Linked DNA regions of Homo sapiens: all the other regions are linked to region 3. Evidence: promoter capture Hi-C in human tissues and cell types (Jung and others, 2019). All regions are on one chromosome and are shown on one strand. Each heading gives the region's core, a stretch centred on a gene start or on the middle of the fragment in contact. The rest is flanking DNA. Distances are from core to core; before and after follow the strand shown.

The links. The method cuts DNA at HindIII sites, captures the fragments that hold promoters and counts their contacts. A contact is called where the count stands out against the background at its distance.
Region 1: a contact is called between a fragment that was not itself captured here and the fragment with the promoter of AP1S3 in region 3, in 1 of the 25 tissues and cell types used here (dorsolateral prefrontal cortex).
Region 2: a contact is called between a fragment that was not itself captured here and the fragment with the promoter of AP1S3 in region 3, in 1 of the 25 tissues and cell types used here (IMR-90 fibroblasts).

Annotation. Positions count from the first base shown.
Region 1 is chr2:222,925,929-222,928,628 of GRCh38, reverse strand. It overlaps ACSL3 (acyl-CoA synthetase long chain family member 3), which reads right to left. Exons shown (of 17, transcript NM_004457.5): 12 at 1,440-1,612. Among named protein-coding and RNA genes, the nearest start is that of ACSL3-AS1, 7.7 kb to the right of the region's middle. The HindIII fragment of the contact is 6,092 bases long and covers 1-2,700 here.
Region 2 is chr2:222,980,508-222,983,207 of GRCh38, reverse strand. No RefSeq gene overlaps it. Among named protein-coding and RNA genes, the nearest start is that of ACSL3-AS1, 62 kb to the right of the region's middle. The HindIII fragment of the contact is 3,166 bases long and covers 1-2,700 here.
Region 3 is chr2:223,836,216-223,838,915 of GRCh38, reverse strand. AP1S3 (adaptor related protein complex 1 subunit sigma 3) reads left to right here and starts at 1,334. Exons shown (of 5, transcript NM_001039569.2): 1 at 1,334-1,468. The coding sequence starts at 1,466. RefSeq lists enhancers at 788-967, 1,838-1,927 and silencers at 1,138-1,267, 1,298-1,727. The HindIII fragment of the contact is 8,969 bases long and covers 1-2,700 here.

The DNA.
Region 1 (2,700 bases), core at 110-2,609, 910 kb after region 3:
AAATCAGGAAATTTTAGATGTAAGTGTGGAATCGCCAGCAACAATGGGCCCACATTTCAGGTACAGCAGAACTGACGGCCTCTGTTAGAGAGGGCATGCCTGCTCCTGTTCCCTCAGAATCAATCCTTACCCATCACATTGTCTTACATTAGGGCCCACTTGACTCATTTAAATAGGTAGCTGCCTGGTTCTTGAGTTTGAAATCCCTGTCTTAAAGGATGATGAAAACAATGGTTTACGTCTATTCTACTTTCTTATTAGGCCTCACCGATGTGCAGTATAAAACACCTCTCTAATCTTTTCCCATGTAATGTATCACCATTTCAAAGTGAGATCTCTGCAGGCTTCCATCAGCTTATGCTATCACACCCTATTTAAAATTAATACAGCAATAGCTCAAGAGCCAGGCTGAAGAATAAGACTGGTGGCTTTCAAGGATGTGAGGAAAGAACCCTCCACTATTATGAATTACTATTGCATTATGTTTCCTCTTCAAAGACCAAATATCAGAAATGAAAGGCTGATATTTAACATTTTAAAGACTTTTATTTAAAACATAAACTGTTACTGATTAATCATTCAATTTGAATCTTAAAAATAGAAGAAATTAAGGATCCTCAGAAGAAAGAAATCCCCTATGCATGTATTTAAGATTGCTTATTTCCTACAAAACATGACTTAGAACTAGCTTCCAAAAATATACGAAAACAGAGAACATAACTGAAAAACAGAAAAATGAAGTAATACATGAAAATGGTATACAGAGCCACTCAAAATAAATAGGGAAAAATCAGTCATGAGGTTTTGTATCTATCCGTATATGGCAAATACAAAGTAGGAGAAGCACAGCTGTATCCTGTACCGGAAAGCAAAATAACTTTCTCCCATAAAAGGGACGCATGAGGCCCTATGCGATTCATCTCAGAACTGCTGATTAGTTGGTAGATCTCCTCCTCAAACACAACCACATGATAAACTCTGGTAATAATATTCCCTAGACCAGAACTTAGTTCCTTCTCTAACACTTACAGAAATCCTCATAAACATTTCTGAACCTGAGCCTTAATATACTCACCTACACAAATAAACAAAAGCACCTTAAGTTTTCTACATAAAAAGAAATTTAATCACTGATGTGAGAAAATAAATGTACACAAAACAGTCAGTGTTTGTTACTAAAGTTTCTCTTCCAAAATGCTAAGTGGTTTTTAATATTACCTATCAGTTTGATATAAAAACTTCTCCAGATAAATTATTGACTCCAGATGCATCTAATACATTCTAAAAATTGATATCAATGATCATAGTACTTGGAATCCACCATTATTCTGCCTCACAAACACCTTACTACTCTTCTCCTATATATTTGCAGAAAATATCCCATACCCCAAAAAAACGTCTGGCATCACACTCCAGCCTCTGACCATGGAGAACACTACCTTCGGAAATTGTTCCAGCCCCAGCAGATTCAGTGAGCCCGTATCCCTGACCAACAGGACAGCAGAAACAGATGTTCATGAATCGCTGCGTGGTTGCAGAAAGTGGAGCGCCACCACACAACAGGAGACGAATATTTCCCCCTAGCAAGCTTCGAACTTTCCGGAAAACAAAGCTAAAGAAAAAAATTAGAGAACCACAGGATTTTAAAACTGAATGGGATTTTCCAAATCACTTAAACTAATCCCCCAGTTTTGATATGAGAGATTTTGAGATTAAGTTACTTATCCAAGGTCACACAGCCAATTTGGAGAGTCTCTTGAGCCCCAAATGTTAATTTTTTGAAGTTCAACAAGGTAAAGAATTTATTATTTCCTCTTAAGAGCTTTTCAAGTGATATTCGAATTTGAATTGTCAGGTTTAGTTTTGTATAGTGACAGGAAAACCCTTGCTTATGGCCACTTTTATATCATTATTTACATAAAATATTTATCATATATTAATACTGAACAATTCTATCATCTTTATGAAATGTATTAAAATCAAATTAATTTTTGCTTTAATGTACTTTATTAGAAATGTGTATAATTTGTATACCACAATCTGTTTTTGAAGTTTCACTAATTCAAGCTTTGAATTGTTTGTTAAAAATAATCTAGTAAATTATCTGTGAAGCATTTAAAAAAGGAAACAAGTTAAACATCTAATTGATGTTTCTGAAAATACACTAATACAAAGATTGCATACTGCCTTGATCAAAAAGGAGAGGTAGTACTTAAAAAAAAAAATCTTTGCAAAAGGTGAAGACTACACGGTGACAATTTTTTAAAAATGGTATTAACAGACTTTTCAAATCAGCTTTTACAGTTATCCCTTGGCATCCAGTCCTCTGGATACCAAAACCCTCAGATGCCTAAGTCCCTTATATAAAACGGCATAGTATTTGCATAAAGCCTACACACATCCTCCAAAATACTTTAAATTATCTCTAGATTACTTATAATACCTAATACAATATAAATTCATTGTAAATAGTTGTTATACTGTATTTTCTTTTCCACTGTTATATTTTATTGTTTTTTCCCCAGAATACTTTTGATCCACGGTTGGTTGAATCTAAAGATGTGGAACCTGTTGATACAGAGGGCCGACTTTACAACTCACTGAAGAAATAACTAACGTAAGGCAGGAAAAAAACTTACAAAGTTCTAAATTATGTGAAGCATCTGAAAACTATATTAATATTACCATAAAAAATACTTT
Region 2 (2,700 bases), core at 89-2,588, 860 kb after region 3:
TCCTCCACACCAATCCCATTGTTCTTGCAGGATACAAAGGTGGGTCACATGGTCACGAGCAGAACCTCTATGCATATCTGCATTCAGATGATCAAGCTGTAGAATGGCTAGCCGAAAAACACAATGCTGAAAGTTCAGGGTTGCAGAAAGTCAGAGGCACACATCAGCTTCAAAGAGAAGGCTGTCAATGGAGACGGGAAGTGGGGAAGGAGTGGGTAGCCTTCTCTCTGCCACACAGAAATGGCTCCAAGGCTATGATGCAAGGTGGCCCCAGCTCTGTGAAAAGGCACTTTCACCTTTAAAGCACTTTGCTGAGAGGGAAAATCAATGCTGATGTCCTCCTTGAATAAAGCACTCAGGTCTACTGGGGAGTCCAAAAATAAAAGCATGACGTTAAGTATTTCTCTACCTGTAGCTACTCCTCACCCTTAAGAGGAGGGGCAAGGTGGAGCTGTTAAGGGAGCAGGTAGAGGGAGAGGCAGGTGGGGGACCGTGGTTGAAGCACTAGAAAAGGGCATCTGGGAAGACTCGCAAATGGGAGTGGGGGAAGGGACAGGCTTCCAGAGGAAGTGGTTTTGGTTGAGGCTGGCTGAGAGCAACAATGAGGCTAGGAACACCGAGGACACCGTGGGAAGGTGAGTGACCCAGAACTCATCACATGTGCTTCTCAAAATCAGAAGACATCTACTGACAGTGACATCTTTTAAATTGGAGCCCTGATAGCATAAACAAGGCTTCAAAAGTCTTTAAAAAGTCTTTATTTTGGTCAGAATAAAACCTGATCCCTTTGCGGGCCATCTTGTCCTGGCTTCAAGACTTTTTCATCCTCCTAGACTTCAAAGCACAGATGTCAGGTTTCCAAGCCAGCAAGTCTACCTTCAATATTAGAAGGAAATGCAAGAGCAAAAAGAGATGAATGACACAATCCAGTAGGTTGCAAATGGAAATGTTTGTGTGAGGCACTAGAGTTGCATCAGCTCTGCCAGGTCATGTGTGAAAAGCAAAGTGATTACACCCAGAGCAAGAGGCTGAAGTGCCCTCCACTGGCCAAACAGATTCCCCAGTAGCCTCAGTGTCACCGCAGAAATGGCTTGAAAGGACAAGAGTTTTTGGAAGTTGCTCCATCTTAAATCCTGGGGTTCAAAGATGTCGATGATGCAACCAATGGAAGAAACTAGCTGATAGTGTTGCTTCCTTTAATCCAAGCTTTTAATTTTATTTAATATGGGAAATTCTCTTTAATCTTACAACAAAGAGATTTACTTTAAGTCTTTAATATCTGAACCACAGAAGCAGAAATAGAAACATGCTATACTCAAGAAATTATCACAGATTTATCTTTTGTCTTAATGTTGTTTCATTTTGTTTGTTTTCATTCTCCATCTTTTTCCAGGCAATTTTTATTGGTAATCTGGTTAGCAAAAGACTAAAGTGACCTAGTTCTGCAGATGAAGCTGAAAGCAGATTCTATTTCTCCAGCGGGGTTTACCTCAATCTGTGAACACAGGCTTAGCAGAAATGAGTGAAAAACAGACAGGGGCTCTCTGGTGCCTCAAGACAGCTTCAGGCACACATGGAAGAAGGGGAGGGTCTTTGGGCAAGAGAAAAAATGGGCACCTCCCTCACCCTTCCAGGCAGAGTCCAGCACAATCTTTGGAGGGCTAGAGGTCGGTTTGAGGTTGTCGCAGAAGCCTTTGAACATTGCAGAAGCCACTTGAGGTATTCCCCCAAGGATGGCAACATCTCACAGGGACCAGCTTCACTGTTCAGGAAGGAACAGCAGCGGCTTCTTACAGGGACACATGCATGTGCAGTGTCTGGAGAGTGGCTCTGCTGGGCCAGGCTGTCCCACAGAGACAGCCAGCAGGATGTTCCTTTTATTTATTTTTTCCAGCTTTATTGAGGTATAACTAACTGACAAAACTCTATCAGTTTAAGATGTACAATATTAGGATTTGATATATGTATATATTGTGAAAAAATGATGACCACAATCAATTTTGTTCATACATCCATCACCTCACCTACTTACCAGTGTGTGTGTGTGTGTGTGTGTGTGTGTGTGTGTGTGTGTGTGTGTGTGTGTGTGGTGTTGAGAAGGAATGAAATCAATAGCTCAAAGAGATAGCTGCACTCCGTTATTCATTGGAGCACTGTTCACAATAACCAAGGTATAACCACCATAAGTGTCCATTGACATGAATACATAAATTGTGAAATACATGTATATGTGTGTTTGTGTGTGTGTATATATATATAATTGTATATTATTTAGCCAAAAAGAAGCAAATCTTGCCATTTGCGACAACTTGGATGAACCTGGAAGACATGATGCCAAGTGAAATAACTCAGACAGGGAAAGACAAAGACGGTATGATCTTGCTTCTATGTGGAATCTAAAAAAGTCAAACTCATAGAAATAGAGTGGAAGAGTGGCCGCCAGAGGCTGGGGATGGGGGAAATGGGGAGAGGTTAGTCAAAGGCTGCTCCTTCTAAAGAGTGAACTGAATGCAGACAAGCTGGCTAAGCAGTTACTGGTTAACCTGTCTGGGCACAAATAACTACAAACTTCTCAAATCAAATCACTGAAAAACAATCACACTATTTTATTACTAACTTGTGCACTATGACAAAATGATATCATCTTGTTTTCAATTTAAGGCCTATAAAATCTTTAGTGATTTGTGGGAGAATTTGGTA
Region 3 (2,700 bases), core at 85-2,584:
CGGGTTCAAGCGATTCTCTCCTGCCTCAGCCTCCCTAGTAGCTGGGACTACAGGCGTGTGCCACCACGCCCAGCTAAATTTTGTATTTTTAGTAGAGACGGCGTTTCACCATGTTGGCCAGGCTTGTCTCGAACTTCTGGTCTCAAGCGATCCGCCCACCTGGGCCTCCCAAAGTGTTGGGATTACAGGCATGAACCATCACGCCTGGCCCAGGAAATGATTCTTAACTTTTGCAGGGTCTAGGATCTCTTTAGCTATTTGATAAAACCAGTGGACTCCCTTTCTCAAAAACATGAATATGCATTAAAAACTCTGCTTACATCTAGTCTATCTGGTAAATATAATTAAAAGAAAAAAGAAAAAACTCTGTTTACAGCTTGGGGGTTTAGAGACTCTCAACGCCCTAGATTTAAGAAAAGTCAAGGGGAGGAGAGATTGGAGAACGAACTTTCTACACCACAACTTCTTAGGAGAGACTTCTTAAAAGGGGGTCGTGCTGCCGGGCGCAGTGGCTCATGCCTGTAATCCCAGCACTTTGGGAGGCCGAGGCGGGTGGATCACCCTGAACGCAGGAGGCGGAGGTTGCAGGGAGCCGAGATCGCCCCACTGCACTCCAGACGGGGCGACAGAGCGACACTCCGTCTCTAAATAAATAAATAAATAAATAAATAAATAAATAAATAAATAAATAAATGGGGGCCTGCTTAAAATGATCTTTGCCCTTAGACTGCAGAGCTTACTTTTTAAAAAGTGAAATGGGGGCAGAAGGGGATAAGAAAACGCTTCTAGTTCTTTCTCTTCCAACTGCTCCCTCCCTAGGAGGCTTAGGATAAGGCAGCCCCCGGCACTTTCTGCGAGTGTATCGGAAGTATCTTTGCCAGGTTTGATAAACGTTTGCGGAAGGAATACAGGACACACTCGCGCGGCAGAATCGCGAAAAGTCCCCGGTGTTCTCCGCGCAGGGAGTTCCCCGCGCAGGGAGTTCCTAGCGGGCCACGCGCTCTCGCCTGACCACCCGCGCCGAGCTGCGGGCTGTCGGGGTACAGACGCCCGCGCGCGCAGGTGCATTCGCTCCAGGTGCGGCCGGCTCGGGGCGGGAACAGCTGCAGCCGAGGCGGGGGCGGGGAGGGGGTACAGAGGAGAGGCAGAAAGGAGGGAAGAGGAGGAGGAGGAGGAGAAGGGAGGAGAAAGGGGAAAGGAAGAAAGAAGGAGAGCAGGAGGGCGAGGAGCGGGGGGAGCGGGGAGGAGGGCGCGGGGAGGAGGCAGCGGGGAGGAGCGTGCAGGGAGGAGGCAGCCGCGCTGGGAGGAGTCTGCACACTTTCAGTGCCAGGGCATTGTGGGAAGCAGCCATGGTCTAAGCCGGGCGCCTCACCTGTCAGCCGCACCGGCTCCAGCGCTCGCCTCTCGCCCTCGCTTCTCCAGCGCTCCTTGCTCGCAAGGCGGGGGAGGCGGCGGCCCAGCCACGATGGTGAGTGCGGGGGAACCGCCGGCCCGGGTAGGCGGTGGGGGCGCTCGCGCTCCGGGGAGGCACCTGGGGCGTCCGGGCCGGGCGCGCGGCCGGGTGGGGGTGCGGGCCGAGTCCCGCCTGGCCACCCGAACCGTGCGTCCCTGTGGCCCCGCTGCCCCAGACGGTGCGGACGCGCCAGGATCGCTTGCCCGGGATTCCTGCGGCAACGCGGCGCCGCGGCGCCGCGGCTCCATTCATTCATTCGATCCGCCTTAGCCGAGTGCTTAGTCTGTGCCGGGCTCGGTGCTGGGCGCTGGGGATGTCGCGGGGGACCAGGAGGAGCCCCTGTTCTCCAGGAAGCTTACCTTCCAGGAGGGGGATGCGGAGGGAGGGACACGTCCAATATACAAGTAAAATGAAGAGAACTTCTAAAGTAAGAAGCGCTGTAAAGTCTCAAATACAACCGGGTGGAGTGGCAACTTTTGATTTGGCAAAGCCTCTTCAAGGACATGACATTCTAGCTGCTGGAGGTCCTGGAGGGGCGCTACAGGTGGATTAGAGAGAGCAAAGCGGAGGGGAGAAGGCCTTGTTTGTGGCAGGAGAGGTGGGCTTCTGCCAGGTGAGGCGGGTTTTTATAGGCCAAAATAAGGAGTTTGGTTTTGGTTCCAACTGAGTAGGGGAAACCTCGGGGACGTTTTAGCAAGAAAACTGACCTTACCCGTTGTGCACTTTTGTTTTTTTGAGACTGATCTCGCTCTGTCGCCCAGGCTGAAGTGCAGTGGTGTGGTCTCGGCTCTGCCTCCCGGGTTCAAGCGATTCTCCTGCCTCAGCCTCCCGAGTAACGGGGATTACAGGCGTGTGCCACCACACCCAGCTAATTTTTGTATTTTTAGTAGAGACGGGGTTTCACCATGTTGGCCAGGCTGGTCTCGAACTCCTGACCTCAGGTGATCCGCCTGCCTCGGCCTCCCAAAGTGTAGGGATTACAGGGGTGAGCCACTGCACCCGGCATGGTGTGCAGTTTGGCTGTGGTTGGAGAATGGACTGGGGTGTGTAAGGGCAGGGGATAGGGGGTCAGGTTGGAAGCTGAGGCCGGCCGCAGCCCTGCTGATGAGAGATCTGGTGACCTGCACTTGGGTGGAAGCGATAGCTCAGGCTCCTCTTGCTCTTGCCTGCTGTTTAGGGGCAGCCTTTTAAGAGTGTGGTGGTCTGAACGTCACTAGTCCCACTTCCCCAAGTGTGTTACCACTTCC